Linked DNA regions of Homo sapiens: all the other regions are linked to region 2. Evidence: promoter capture Hi-C in 16 types of primary human blood cells and fetal thymus (Javierre and others, 2016). All regions are on one chromosome and are shown on one strand. Each heading gives the region's core, a stretch centred on a gene start or on the middle of the fragment in contact. The rest is flanking DNA. Distances are from core to core; before and after follow the strand shown. Region 1 overlaps LOC124903536 (a long non-coding RNA gene). Region 2 holds the start of BCL2A1 (BCL2 related protein A1). Region 3 overlaps FAH (fumarylacetoacetate hydrolase). Region 4 overlaps ZFAND6 (zinc finger AN1-type containing 6). Region 5 has its middle 7.4 kb from the start of FAH.

Region 1 (2,700 bases), core at 38-2,537, 140 kb after region 2:
CAAAGCTCTGCTTAGCTTTGTAGACTCCTGGCTGCCAGTTTCTACTTCATTTCTCCTCTTGGCTTCTTCACTGATCAGTTTCTACAAAGCACAACTTCTCAGCTTTTAAGTTTTTCTTAAGAATCAACAAATGCTTTGAGGCAAAAAGCTGTGCCAAATATCAGGTTCAGTTCTGTGCTTTCTTTCTCTCTGAGATCTTGGTGCCGTAAGACCTCACCACATTTGATAGCTCTCTGATGCGTTCAAACAGGGCATTTCTATTTGTTCTTGGTAGTAGAGTTGATCTGAATATATTAGCCTATCAAAGGCAGAAATGGAACTCCCTGATAGTGGTTTTTAATCTCTTTGGGTGATTTGAATGTAAGATGCACTGGACAAAATCAACTCCTTGCCACATCATAAGAACCACCTTAGTCTGTTGTTTAAAAATGTTGATTTTTCTGGTCCTATCCTAGATGTACTGAACCAGAATTTCCAGAAAAAAAAGACTGATTTGTTGTGCTAGCAAGTGCTTCTGACAAAGGCACACTTGAGAAGCACTGAATAAGTGGCTCTTTAGAGTCCTTCTTGCTCTGGTTGCATATTCTGGTGACCCTAGTGACCCCACCCACCCAATGAACCCTGTATATATAGTGGCAGGAAGGAGCCTGGTTATTCTGATATGCAGAGGGGCAGCATGCTGCCTTTACCACCACCTTCGACTTTAGTTTGCATTCTGTAACTCTCTCCAAAGAGAGAGTGGTAGCTCTCTTTGCTGAATTATTTCTAATTTTTTCCATGGACATTTTAATCAGAGATGACAAATGACTGGTCTTTTGCTAGCAGTTCAATCTAAGAGGAAGTTATTTGCCTCTTAGAGGTACATTAATTTGCGATGGCTTTCATGCAGAAGGCAGAGGGATATTGTGGAAAGGGACTTGGATTCTGGGAATCAGGTATAAGCCCAGGGTACTTGGCTTGGGAATTGTAGTAGTCACTTGCCCCTTCCCTTCCTCCCTCCACTAATGTAAGTTTCCTTTGCCTGCTTGAGGGTATCTCCAAATTAGGTTCTTTTCCAGCTGCCAGTGGTAGGACTAGAGTGCAGTTCTGACCCTGGTCTCTGGAACCCTTTCTCACCCCTGCTGGCTCCTCTCCAGTGGATTCCCCACTGTCCTGCACCAACTCCCTCCCCTTCGTCTCTCACCCACCTCCTTTTCTCCTTTTCTTCTCTTGTCCTTCCCTTCTCTTCTCCTCACCTCCACCCCAATCTTCTTTCCCCCGTTCCAGAATCAGAACAGAGGCAGTAGTGTCCTGTTGTGGACCCTCCCTCAACTGCTTCAGCCTTCTCCAGGACCAGCTGTCAGCAGAAGTGGAGCTCATGCAGGAGGGCAAAATGGTCCAATTCCTTTTCTCAGGGCTATCTAGCAAGACCAGTTCCTGTGGTTCTCTCTGGCTCATGTGAGGATGCTTCCCACTTTGGAGGTCTATGGTTGTCCTAGTCCGTGGCTACCCAGTAAGTGCTACTCAAATCAGTAGGAAAACAATGAAGTGTGCCCAGTGGTAAAGGGGCAAAGGACATAAACAGGTAATTCACACAAGAGGAGACACAGATAGCCACAAATATAAGAACTATTTAATTTCACATTTCATCAAAGAAATGCAAGCTGAAACCATGTGAGTAGTAAAAAATAATCAAACCAGTTAAGTTTGGGCTATGATGCAGGGAAATGGACACTCATACTGCTGGGAGAGTGTATGTTTTTTAGTCTTTCTGGAGAGAAAGTTGGCAGAATATAACAAAAATCTTATAATTTTCTATGACTTTTGACCCTGTCATTCTACTTTCAGGAATTCATCCCAGTGAAATAATGTATGCGATTTGCAAAAGTTCTATACAAGTATATTCAGCATGAGGCTGTTTTATTGTAATAGTGATGACTGCTGCTACCCAGTGAAATACAACCATACAATAATAAGGGGTTGCTACATTCATGCCAGTTGTACACTCTGTTGTCATTAAAAACATCATACACAAATATTTAAAGAGGAAGAATGTCCAAGCTCTTTTTTAAAAAAATAAAATAAAAGCAGTGTATCACAATAATTGTATTTTGGTGGGGAGGAACCAGCATAGAAAAAAGATCAATGGATGCAAAATGTTACCATGTCTGTCTTGTGTGTTTTATCATACACAAAAATCTAAGTAATATGATTATTAAAAAAGAGAAGAAGAAAACAAAAATACTGATTCCTAGCATGTAGGAAGACTGGCCTGCATTCTAGTCCTGAATTTGCCTCTTGTTCTCTGTGAGGCTTTGGACGGGTCACCTTGGCTCTTTTGATGGGCAGTTTCCTCATCTATAAAGCAGATCTGGCCACGCGTAGCAGCATTCATGTCTGTTCAGTGCTTTACCAGTCCCTTTGCTAACCATTGTTTTACTTTGATCTCACATCTGTGCCTTGTAGATCAGCACTTTGTGGGCTGTTGGCTATTTTACTATCACTTGATAATTCGGTATCTCCAAATTAGGTTCTTTTTCCAGCTACCAGTGGTAGGACTAGAGTGCAGTTCTGACCCTCGTCTCTGGAACCCTTTCTCACCCCTGCTGGCTCCTCTCCAATGGAGAAACTAACCTTATTTTCATGTACTGTGATACAAAGAAAAGCTTCTTAAGGGTTATTGGAAGGCAAGCATTTGAAGGAACTAGAGTAGCCTGGCTA
Region 2 (2,849 bases), core at 150-2,649:
TCTCGATCTTCTGATCTCGTGATCCGCTCGCCTCAGCCTCCCAAAGTGCTGGGATTACAGGGGTGAGCCACCGTGCCTGGCCCAAAGAGGGTATTTTTTTCTTCCCTCTCGGTATCATCCTTACTCAATTACAAATGATCAAGGGCGGTACTGCCAGAGTCACCTCGAGAGGCCCTGTTCTCTGCCACCCAGGCTGTTTTGTAGTCTCCATTCCAAATTGTCGTTACTCCGGTTTACCCCGTGGATGGCGTTTAAGACTTTTCTTAAATTTGAAATTCACAGAACCATTTTAAAGTGAACAATTCAGTGGCATTTAGTACCTTCGCAGTGTTGTGCAACTTCCACCTCTATCTAGCTGCAAAACATTTTCTTTTCTTTTTTTTTTTGGAGACAGAGTCTCGCTCTGTTGCCCAGACTGGAGTGCAGTGGCGTGATCTTGGCTCACTGCAACTTCTGTCTCCCGGGTTCAAGCAATTCTCCTGCCTCAGCCTCCCGAGTAGCTGGGATTACAGGCACACGCCACCCGCCTGGCTAATTTTTTGTATTTTAGTACAGACGGGGATTTACCATATTGCCCAGGCTGGTCTCAAACTCCTGAGCTCAGGCAATCCGCCCGCCTTGTCCTCCCAAAGTGCTAGGATTACAGGCGTGAGCCAACGCGGCCGGCCTTGTAAAACATTTTCATCACACAAAAGAAAACCTTCTACCCATTAAGCAGTTACTCCTTCCTCTTCTCAGCCCCTGTCAACCACCAATTTGCTTTCTATCCTATGGATTTAACTGTCTGGATATTTCATAGAAATAGAATCACATAATGTATGACCTTTTCTGTTTGGCTTCTTTCTATTAGCCTAATGTTTTTGAGGTTCATTCCTGTTGAAGCATGTATCAGTTCTTCATTCCTTTTTTGGGATGAATAATGTTCCATAATTTATTTATCCTTTCGTCTGTTGATGAACATTTGAGTTGTGTCCACATCTTGGCTATTGTGAATAGTGCTGCCATGTACATTCGTATGTAAGTATTTGAGTATCTGTTGGGTGTATACCTATGAATGGAATTGCTGGGTCTTTTGACAATTCTGTATTTAACTTTTTGAGAAACTGCCAACATTTTCACAGGGGTTGTACCATTTCACATTCCCACCAGCAATCTACAAGGATTCTAATTTCTCCACATCCTGCATTTAAGACTTGCAAAGCTGAATTAATCACAGGATGAGGAAGTGGCTTCTCTGAAACATTTTCCTCTTTCACATTTTAAACTTTCTCTTTCATACATGACATGAAACACAGCCTACGCACGAAAGTGACTAGGAGGAAGGATATTATAAAGTGATGCAAACAGAAATTCCACCAGCCTCCATGTATCATCATGTGTCATAACTCAGTCAAGCTCAGTGAGCATTCTCAGCACATTGCCTCAACAGCTTCAAGGTGAGCCAGCTCAAGACTTTGCTCTCCACCAGGCAGAAGATGACAGACTGTGAATTTGGATATATTTACAGGCTGGCTCAGGACTATCTGCAGTGCGTCCTACAGATACCACAACCTGGATCAGGTCCAAGCAAAACGTCCAGAGTGCTACAAAATGTTGCGTTCTCAGTCCAAAAAGAAGTGGAAAAGAATCTGAAGTCATGCTTGGACAATGTTAATGTTGTGTCCGTAGACACTGCCAGAACACTATTCAACCAAGTGATGGAAAAGGAGTTTGAAGACGGCATCATTAACTGGGGAAGAATTGTAACCATATTTGCATTTGAAGGTATTCTCATCAAGAAACTTCTACGACAGCAAATTGCCCCGGATGTGGATACCTATAAGGAGATTTCATATTTTGTTGCGGAGTTCATAATGAATAACACAGGAGAATGGATAAGGCAAAACGGAGGCTGGGTATGTGTGATGGAAAAATTCTTCATTGTTCTTTCCTGTGAAATAGAAATTGAGAATTTCCTTGCTAGTTAAAACAACAACAAAACACTTTACCTAAGAATACTATTTTCCTTGGGTGGTTTGTTTTAATTTTTAAAATAAAAATATACTTTCTGGCTTATTTCCAATGAATCCTTGAACTTGAACTTTATAGTTGGAAAGCACTTATGTTTTCAGTTTTTATTCTTAACAGTATAAATTACAGTAGTGAGCTTTGGGGATTAATAAAGCACCTCTCTCATGCAGCTTCACAATCAGCTGTGCACACACTCTAATCTAGTACTTAGCTTTTGCTAGGGTTGTCATGACAGTACAGACAGTACAGAAATTTCTACAATCAGCACAGAAAGTTGCTATCAGATGCTGTTATTTTTAGGTATTTATGGGTTGCAAAAGACAGGTGTAAATTTTTGTAAGTTCATCGCTTACAAATTGGTGTTTTTCAGTTTACTAATACATAATAAATAGTAACATATATTAATATATAGCAAATTACATTACATATAATATATAACACATTATTACTAATAATAAATTCCGGGCTGTTAAAGTTTGTTGATTAAAACATAATATACTGTATGACCAGCAAGAACCTTTATTCAAGAATTTTCAAATAAAAATTTACTTTATTATCAGTGCCTAAAAAAGCCAAGACTATGTAGAGGCCTGTGTTGAAACTCATGTTGGTAAAAAGCCTGACACAGCTGGATGTATATGGTTTCCTTTATATTCCAATATACTTAATAATTATTTTTTTAAAGCACTTAAGTGTTCATTGATCCTCTCTCCAACGGCCTTCACCTCTCCCAAGAGGTAACCACTGTTATCAATTATTTTGCATGCAAAACATGCCTACTGAATCTATCCATAGAAAATAAACAATACTTCTTTGTAAAACATTTTTTGTAAAAAAAG
Region 3 (2,837 bases), core at 37-2,536, 200 kb before region 2:
GCCAGTAGGAATATAAAGTTCCCTTCTTAATATATTAAGTTTAAACTGGGAGCCACTCTGAAGGAAAACATTAAGTAAATAATAGTTCAGAGGGGGAATAGTAGTGTTGTACCTAAATGGTGTTGGGGAAGGGCTGGCACAGAGGAAGGCAGGCAAAACCCTGTGATGACCGACCCGGAAGAAGGCAGATGACTGGAGGACAAGCAAAGAGAGGCTGTGGCCTTGCAGCCCTAGGGAGACTAGACAAGGCCGCTGCCAGCTAGAGAGAAAGTCAAGTCCTGGCGACTGAAAATGACCAGGGTGGGCAGGGGGTGCTGTGGTAGGGAGCAGCGAGGAGAGAGCAAGGGATGAGGGTGAAAGCCCCACAGGACTTCACTAGAACTGGCTTGCAAGGAAAGACCTCAGGGTTGTTTGTAGCACAGCAAACATGAGATGACCCCAGAGGCAGAGGAGCATGGGAGAGCAGTGTGGGTGCAGGACCAGCACCGGGTGTTGGTAGAGGCCCCCAGCAAATGCGTGGTGAGATGCTCAAGCGAGGATGTGCAAATGGCTGGGAGCTCAGCCTGGATCCCCACAGGGAGGTCAGAATTGGAGAGGGGCATCGTGAGGACTCAGAGACACTGGAGAACGAGGACAGGTCACATGCCAGAAACCAAGGGGTGAGGGAATGCCAACAAGAGTGAGGGGCCACAGGAAGTCCATGCTGAAGGGGACACAAGGTCATGACACTGACTATCGGGTCACAGGTGACTCTGGCCAGGTGTTGCCAGTGATGGAGTGGGGCAGATTGCAACAGGCTGAGAAGGGAGGACTGGAACCAGGGGTCAAGGCCTAGACCCAGTGGTAGACCAAGCGGTGCCGGGAACCAGAGGCTGCAGGGACTCCCTGTTGCTGGGCTCCAAGCTGCATTCTATGAGTTGGGGTCCAGGTGGCGCCATTTGCACAGAACAAGATTTGATGGCCACCTGGGAGGTTGTGCAATGTTGGTACCTGCAGGGACTCCTCCTGCCAACTGGCCAGATCCCCCGGGTCTTGCAAGATTCTTAAGGTTACAAAATTCTGTGTTTTCTCCAAGAACTGTGCCAGGGCCAGGGAAACCACAAGGGAGAATGATGCCCTGGCTGCCTGGAAGTAATCGTGGCCAGGAACTCCCAGGCACTCTGCTGTGGGCATGCCGTGGGCACAGAGCTTCCCTCCTGATGGTCTGCATGCCTGGCATGTCCACTCAGTGGGCAAGCAGCCTCAGAGGCAGCAGGGCTGGGTTTGGGAGCTTCCTGCAGAGAATGTGCTTACCTGCTTCGGGTTGGGCACAGCAAAGGGCATGAGAGCATCCATGGGCACCACCCACGGAGAGACAGTGGTCCCAAAACTCTTCCCAAGGAATGGCCCGAGAGGGACATACTCCCACTTCTGAATGTCTCGTGCTGCAGAAGAAGGGCACAGCCAGGACTTACAAAGGCTGATCAGGGCATCTCCCAACGACCCCCTCCTGCCCTTGACCAAGGAGCAGAGACACCTAGCACTGCCATCTCCACAAAGATCAGCCCCAGTCAGGCTGCCCCAGGACAAAGGGGCAAGAGCATTCAATGCCAAGGACAGAGGTCCTTTGAGGGCACTGTGCCAGGTTACAGCAAAGAGAAGGATGACCAAACGGTGGTCAGGATATCTCCCAGGAAGGGGCTGGAAGCTCATTCTCAAACTATGAGAGAGACACTTTCTGGGGCTTATGGTGCCATCTTCCTCCCACGTATGGCAAAGGGTTGAGAGCTCAGGCTCAGAAGCTGGACTGTTTTGCTTCAAATCTTAGTTCAGCAACTAACTGAAATCTCCCTGTGCCTCAGTTCCTCATCTGTAAAATGGGAAGATAATATTGCACATACCGTGTAGGGATCAGCGGGAGAATATACGAAGGGTGTTAAGCACAGGGCCTGACACATAAGTGCTCAGTAAATATTAGTTATGATGTCAGCCGTGTCCCTAGCCACTCGAGAAAATTGGAGCTCAGAGGAGTTAAGTGAGTGGCCCGAGTTCTTAGAGCTGAAAGTCTGTTTGATACCCAGACCCCCACTCTCAGTCACTGCATCACCTGCCACTTTTGACCTGCACCAGATCTTCAGCTTCTATGAAATTGCCCCAAGTCCCCAGCCTCCTCCCCGTCATCTCTACAGGAGCAGAGCTCCAGTAATTACCACTCCAGTCGTTCATAAGGACCATTCCAAAAATGTGCTCATGGGCCTTGGAAATGGGGATCGGCTCTCCCAATCTGTTTCCAGGGCCTACAAAAAAAGCCTTACATGGGGGAGAGTTCATTAGAATCTGGAGCTGATCTGCCGCCCAGGTCACTTGTCACCTAGAGAGCAAAGGTCAGGTATTTCCAAACTCCAGCCATGGACCAGGACTGCCACAGGGGCCTGGCATGAATCCACTGTGTTTCTAAGTCAGAGGTCAGATGGACGCCTCAGGAAAGCAGAGTGCAGTGGTGTGCCCTGCCCCCGCCATCGGCCTTCCTTCCACTCCCCTGAGCTCCAAAGCAGCCTCCCCTCCCTTCAGTGCATCCCAGGCCACTCTGCTCTTTCCTCTTCATCCCATACAGCCTTTGCCTTTCAAGACTTGACAGCCACATGAGGCTTGTAAAACTGAAACTATCAGGGTTTGTATTCATGTCATGAAAAACCAGGCCAGGCACTGTGGCTCACGTCTATAATCTCAGCACTTTGGGAGGCTGAGGTGGAAGGATCACTTGAGCCTCGGAGTTTGAGACAAGCCTGAGCAACATAGTGAGACCCCACCTCTACAAAAAATAAACAAAATTAGCCAGGCATGGTGGCACATGTCCG
Region 4 (2,700 bases), core at 68-2,567, 150 kb before region 2:
GAACTGCCTTTTTCATGGAACACGTTTCTTATTTGAAAGAATGACTAATAAACTGGTTATTAAGACCTGAGTATTCAGGCTGGGCACGGTGGCTCATGCCTGTAATCCCAGCACTTTGGGAGGCCAAGTCAGGAGGATCACGAGGTCTGGAGATAGAGGCCATCCTGGCTAAGACATTGAAACCCCGTCTCTACTAAAAATACAAAAAATCAGCCAGGCATAGCGGCAGGAGCCTGTAATCCCAGCTCCTCAGGAGGCTGAGGCAGGAGAATGGCATGAAGCCAGGGGGCGGAGCTTGCAGTGAGCCAAGATCGTGCCACTGCACTCCAGCCTGGGCAACAGAGCGAGACTCCGTCTCAAAAAAAAAAAAAGAGTATTCAGTAGATATTTTTGTAAATGAACAAAGTGCACTCATCACTTCAAACATCTAATAGTATCTGTTATCAAAGACAACAGTCAAGTGAAAAAAACCTTGACAAGCATCTCCAATATTCTGAGAGTTTCTGATAAGATTCATGGTGATATTAATTAAATGTGATTAGTTGCTACTATATCAATATTTGAAATATCATCCTAAGACACTGAATCAGTATTTTCTAAGCAACCAATGTTGGTTGCTTAGCAAGAAATAGTAAGAAATTACTCATGAACAGAAGATCCATTCAAAGTGAAAAGCCAATGAATTTTAATGTAACAGGACAAAAAGTTTTATATCAGGGTATCCAATCTTTTGGCTTCCCTGGGCCACAGTGGAAGAATAATTGTCTTAGGCCACATATAAAATACATTAATACTAACGACAGTGGATGAACTAAAATAAATAAATATATAAATAATGCTTTAAGAAAGTTTATGAATTTGTGTTGGGCCACAGATTGAACAAGCTTGTCTTGTATGGTTTCAATTTCACACTGCAACTATCCTTTAAGAAACTATCGTCAAGTTTTAGTGTAATATCAAAGAACCTCTATTATCTGATAATGTTATTAAAATATTCTTTCCAAATACATATGAGCCCAGATTTTCTTTATAACACTATAACAGATTGAATGCCAAAGCAACTACTAGAATGTTGTTATTAAGGCAGACTTTTTAAAAAATCTGCAAAAATGTGTTAACAATGCCACTCTTCTCATTAACAAGTGTGGGGGAGAGGAAAGTGGTTATTTTCCTAAAATATTTTAAAATAAACTAGTACTTAAAACATTTTCTCAGCTTTAATTTTTAATATGATTTCACTAGATATAACTCTCACACACAAAAGCCCTTCGGGATATTTACACCAAAATTTTGAGAATCCACTGCTTATAAAACGTGCACTCTCAGTATAGACAGTTTGCCCCTCAAGGGAGAAAACACTGATTTTTGGAGGAAAGGGTCACAAAAACCCTTACTCTTGTATAAAACACAGATATACATAAAATACATAAACAGACCTGCAATATCTCTCTGGAGTTAAAATCTTCTGGAGGTGGGGGCCACTTAAGAAAAAAAAAAACAAAAAAAAAACCTAAAAAGGCTCCTTAGGGAAAAAATAGAGAAAAAAGACTGAGGAACTCGGGTCTAAACCACCAACTATGCTATACTGCTTATTAACAACATTAAAGTGTAAGAGAGGAATTAAAGGAACTCTCCCAATGATACTGGTAAATATATGGCTAGCAACCAAACAGTAAAAGGATAAATATATTTCCATAAAAACTCAAGTAAAAAGTCATAGATGAAAGTACAATATGACCACTAAGCTTTTCATTACAATTACTTCAAAACATTAAGATTAAAGTTTGAAAACTTGTAACACTACCAATTTTCCCAAGTCAAACTGCCTGCACGGCATCAAATTAACAATGATTTTCATAACTCAAGAGGCACAAAGGGTTTCTCACAGGATTCTTAAAAAAAAAAAAGAATCAGTCTTATTTATTAATCGTTAGGCCATAAAATGTACCTTTACATGAAGAGTCAGAAAGACTGAAAAAGACAAAAAACCATAAAGAGTAATTTAGTTTATCTGAATGTGTAATGGCATAGATGGGGTAGCTATGAAGAAACTGGAAGTCCTGCCTCCCTCCCTTTGCTACTATACCTTTTTGGGGCAATCAGTCTGGCATTCAAATGATCAGGGAGGAAAAGGGATAAGGGGAGAAAAGGCAGAACAATTCCTTAACTGCTGCACTGTGGAATTATAAAACCACAAATCCAGAGACAGAGAGTAAGATCACTCTACCAGATACTTTAAAAATGATTAGCATGGTATAATAAACAAAAGCCTATGAATTGAAGAGAATTCATAAAATGTGACTTTTGACTGTTCATAACATTCGTAGTCAAATCCCCAACCTATTACTCCCTCTAACATCCCAGACAATACTTAACAGTTATTCAGAGTTTACTATGTGCCAGGAACTCTTTTTATTGTTTATTTATATCTCATTTAATCCTCTCAAGAACACTATGATGTTGGTGCTGTTGATATCCCTATTTTAAAAACAAAAAAAAATGATACTCAAAAAGACTTAGTAACTTGCCCAAGTTCCCCTTCTGGTAAGCAGCTAAGTCAGTGTCTTTTGATCTAAAAAACAAAACAAAACAAAACCAACAACAAAAAAGAGAACTGTCAAAGTCCATCATATCCCTGAAAACCTATAATTTTCTGAGCATTCATTAATTCTTATTAGTTTCATTTAAGTATACCTTTTA
Region 5 (2,779 bases), core at 177-2,676, 170 kb before region 2:
AACCCCTATGTTGTCCATAATGGCGGTACTAATTTACATTCCCACCAACAAAGTACAAGGGTTCCCTGTTTTCCACAGCCTCTGCAATACTTGCTGTCTTTTGTTTTTTTGATAATAGCCATTCTAACAGGTGTGAGATGATATCTCATCGTGGTTTTATTTTGCATTTTTCTGATAATGATGTTGAGCATTTTTTCACATACCTGTTGGCCATTTTTATGTCTTTTGGGAAATGTCTATTCATATCCATTACTCATTTTTTAAGAATTAGGTTACTTGTTTTCTTGCTATTGAGTTGTTTGACTTCATTATTTATTTTAGATTCTAATTCCATATCAGATGTGTGGTTTGCAAATGTTTTCTCCCACTTCCTAGGTTTTTTCTTGTCGATTGTTTCCTTGGCTATACAGAAGCTTTTTAGCCTGATATAATCGCATCTGTCTGTATTTGCTTTTGTTGCCTGTGCTTTTGGGTTCATATCCAAAAAATCATTGCCCAGACCAATGACATGGAGCTTTTCCCATTTTCTTCTAGTTTTACAGTTTCATTTCTTAAGTTTACGTTTTTAATCCATTTTGAGTTGATTTTTATATATGGTGTGAGATAAGGGTCTAATTTCATTCTTCCACATGTGGATATCCAATTTTCCCAACATCATTTATTGAAGAGACTGTCCTTTCCCCATCACGTATTCTCAGCACTTTTGTGAAAAATCAACTGGCTGTAAATCTGTGGATTTATTCCTGGGCTCTCTATTCTGTTCAATATGTCTGTTATTATGCCAGCACCATGTTGTTTTGATTACTATAGCTATATAGTAGATTCATTTTGTTTTGTTTTGCTTTGCTTTAGAGACAGGGTTTTGCTCTGTTCTCTGGCTGGAATTCAGTGATATGATCACGGCTCACTGCAGCCTCAACCTCCCAGTGGCTCAAGTGATCCTCCCACCTTAGTCTTCTGCATAGCTGGGACTATAGGCATCTGCCACCATGCCTGGCCAATATTTAAAAAAAAAATGTAGAGATGGAGTCTAGCTATGTTGTGTAGGCTGGTCTCAAACTCCTGGGCTCAAGTGATCCTCCTGCCTCAGCCTCCCGAAGTGCTGGAATTACAGGCATGAGCCACCACATCTGGCTGCTTTGTAGTAGATGTTGAAGTCAGATAGTGTGATGCCTCCAGCTTTGTTCTTTTTGCTCAAGAGTGCTTTAGCTATTCAGCGTCTTTTGCAGTTCCATACATGTTTTAGGATTTGTTTGTTTGTTTCTGTGAAAAATATCGTTACAATTTTGACAGGGATTCCATTGAATTTGTAGATTGCTTTGGGTAGTATGGACATTTTAACAATATTAAGTCTTCCAATCTATGAACATGGGATATCTTTTATGTTGTTTTTTTTTTTTTTGAGACGGAGTTTCGCTCTTGTTGTCTGTCCAAGCTGGAGTGCAGTGGCGCGATCTTTGCTCACCGCAACCTCCACCTCCCAGGTTCAAGCGATTCTCCTGCCTCAGCCTCCAGAGTAGCTGGGATTACAGGCATGCGCCACCACGCCTGGCTAATTTTGTATTTTTAGTAGAGACAGGGTTTCTCCATGTTGGCAGGGTGGTTTCGAACTCCCAACTCAGGTGATCTGTCTGCCTCGGCCTCCCAAAGTGCTGGAATTACAGGCTTGAGCCACCGCGCCTGGCCATATCTTTTCATTTATTTCTGTTTTCTTCAATTTCTTTCATTGATGTTTTCTAGTTATCAGTGTACAGGTCCTTCACCTCCTTGGTTAAATTTATTCCCAAGTGTTTTGTTTGGTTGGGGGTTTTTTGGTAGCTATTGTAAATGAGATTGTTTTCTTAATTTCCAAAAATCCCTTCTGCTACTTCTATTCATCCCCTGGACCGCTGGCAGCCACTTATCTCTTTACTGTCTCTGTAGTCTTGACTTTTCCAGAATGTCATATAATTGGAATCATATAGTATGTAGCTTTTAAGATTGGGTTCTTTCACTTAGCGATATGCATTAAGATTCTTCTATGTCTTTTCCTGCCCTGAAAGTTCCTTTCTATTTTTGTTGAATACTGTTTCACTGTATAAATGTTCCACAGTTTGTTTGTTCACCTATTGAAGGACATCTTGGTTGCTCCCAATTTTTGGCAATTAAGGATAAAGCTGCTAAAATGTCAGTGTGCAAGTTTTTGTGTGGACACTTTTGCTTTTTAACCAAGTATACTTTATTAAATCATTAAAAAAAATTTTTAGAAATGGGGTCTCACTATGTTGCCCAGACCAAACTCAAACTCCTGGCCTCAAGTGACTCTCCTACCTCAGCCTCCTGAGTAGCTGAGGCTGCAGGCTTTTTTTTTTTTAATTGCTATCAGTGTATCTTCTTTGATATCTATTCAGATATTTTGCCCATTTTTAGGTTGGACTGTTTTCATACAATTAAGCTTTTAAGAGTTTTTTGTATATGTTAAATGAAAGCCCTTTATGTGTTTTGCTAATTTTTTCCAAGTCTGTGGCTTGTCTTTTAATTTTCTTAACAGCAGCTTCTGCAGAGCAGTTTTTAACTTTAACAGAGTCCAAGTCATCAATAATTTTTCTTTCCCAAGTTATGCTTTTAGTGTTTTACTTAGAAAAATCGAAACCAAACCTTGAATTTCTTATATTCTAAGTTTTACATTTTTGTGTTTTACATTTATGTCTATGATAAATTTTGAGTTAACTTTTGTGAAAGGTTCAAGGTGTCTAGATTGACTTTTTTTGCATGTAAATGTACAGCTGATCACTACTGC

Evidence for each region. Contacts are between HindIII fragments. The CHiCAGO score rates a contact against its expected background, and 5 or more counts as called.
Region 1: a contact is called between a fragment that was not itself captured here and the fragment with the promoter of BCL2A1 in region 2, in 1 of 17 cell types (neutrophils). The highest score is 6.1, in neutrophils.
Region 3: a fragment that was not itself captured here is called in contact with the fragment with the promoter of BCL2A1 in region 2 in 6 of 17 cell types (M2 macrophages, naive CD8 T cells, megakaryocytes and 3 more); the score reaches 7.0 in M2 macrophages.
Region 4: a contact is called between a fragment that was not itself captured here and the fragment with the promoter of BCL2A1 in region 2, in 1 of 17 cell types (total B cells). The highest score is 5.6, in total B cells.
Region 5: a contact is called between a fragment that was not itself captured here and the fragment with the promoter of BCL2A1 in region 2, in 1 of 17 cell types (neutrophils). The highest score is 5.6, in neutrophils.

The regions. Positions count from the first base shown.
Region 1 is chr15:79,824,896-79,827,595 of GRCh38, reverse strand. It overlaps LOC124903536 (a long non-coding RNA gene), which reads left to right. Exons shown (of 2, transcript XR_007064730.1): 2 at 1-2,700. Among named protein-coding and RNA genes, the nearest start is that of MTHFS, 71 kb to the left of the region's middle. The HindIII fragment of the contact is 2,720 bases long and covers 1-2,647 here.
Region 2 is chr15:79,969,746-79,972,594 of GRCh38, reverse strand. BCL2A1 (BCL2 related protein A1) reads left to right here and starts at 1,399. Exons shown (of 2, transcript NM_004049.4): 1 at 1,399-1,895. The coding sequence starts at 1,476. RefSeq lists an enhancer at 776-1,975. The HindIII fragment of the contact is 17,831 bases long and covers 1-2,849 here.
Region 3 is chr15:80,171,601-80,174,437 of GRCh38, reverse strand. FAH (fumarylacetoacetate hydrolase) reads right to left here. Exons shown (of 14, transcript NM_000137.4): 8 at 2,190-2,289; 9 at 1,294-1,424. Among named protein-coding and RNA genes, the nearest start is that of FAH, 20 kb to the right of the region's middle. The HindIII fragment of the contact is 8,594 bases long and covers 1-2,837 here.
Region 4 is chr15:80,114,899-80,117,598 of GRCh38, reverse strand. The region is part of intron 2 of ZFAND6 (zinc finger AN1-type containing 6); the gene reads right to left. Among named protein-coding and RNA genes, the nearest start is that of FAH, 37 kb to the left of the region's middle. The HindIII fragment of the contact is 861 bases long and covers 887-1,747 here.
Region 5 is chr15:80,144,202-80,146,980 of GRCh38, reverse strand. No RefSeq gene overlaps it. Among named protein-coding and RNA genes, the nearest start is that of FAH, 7.4 kb to the left of the region's middle. The HindIII fragment of the contact is 2,021 bases long and covers 416-2,436 here.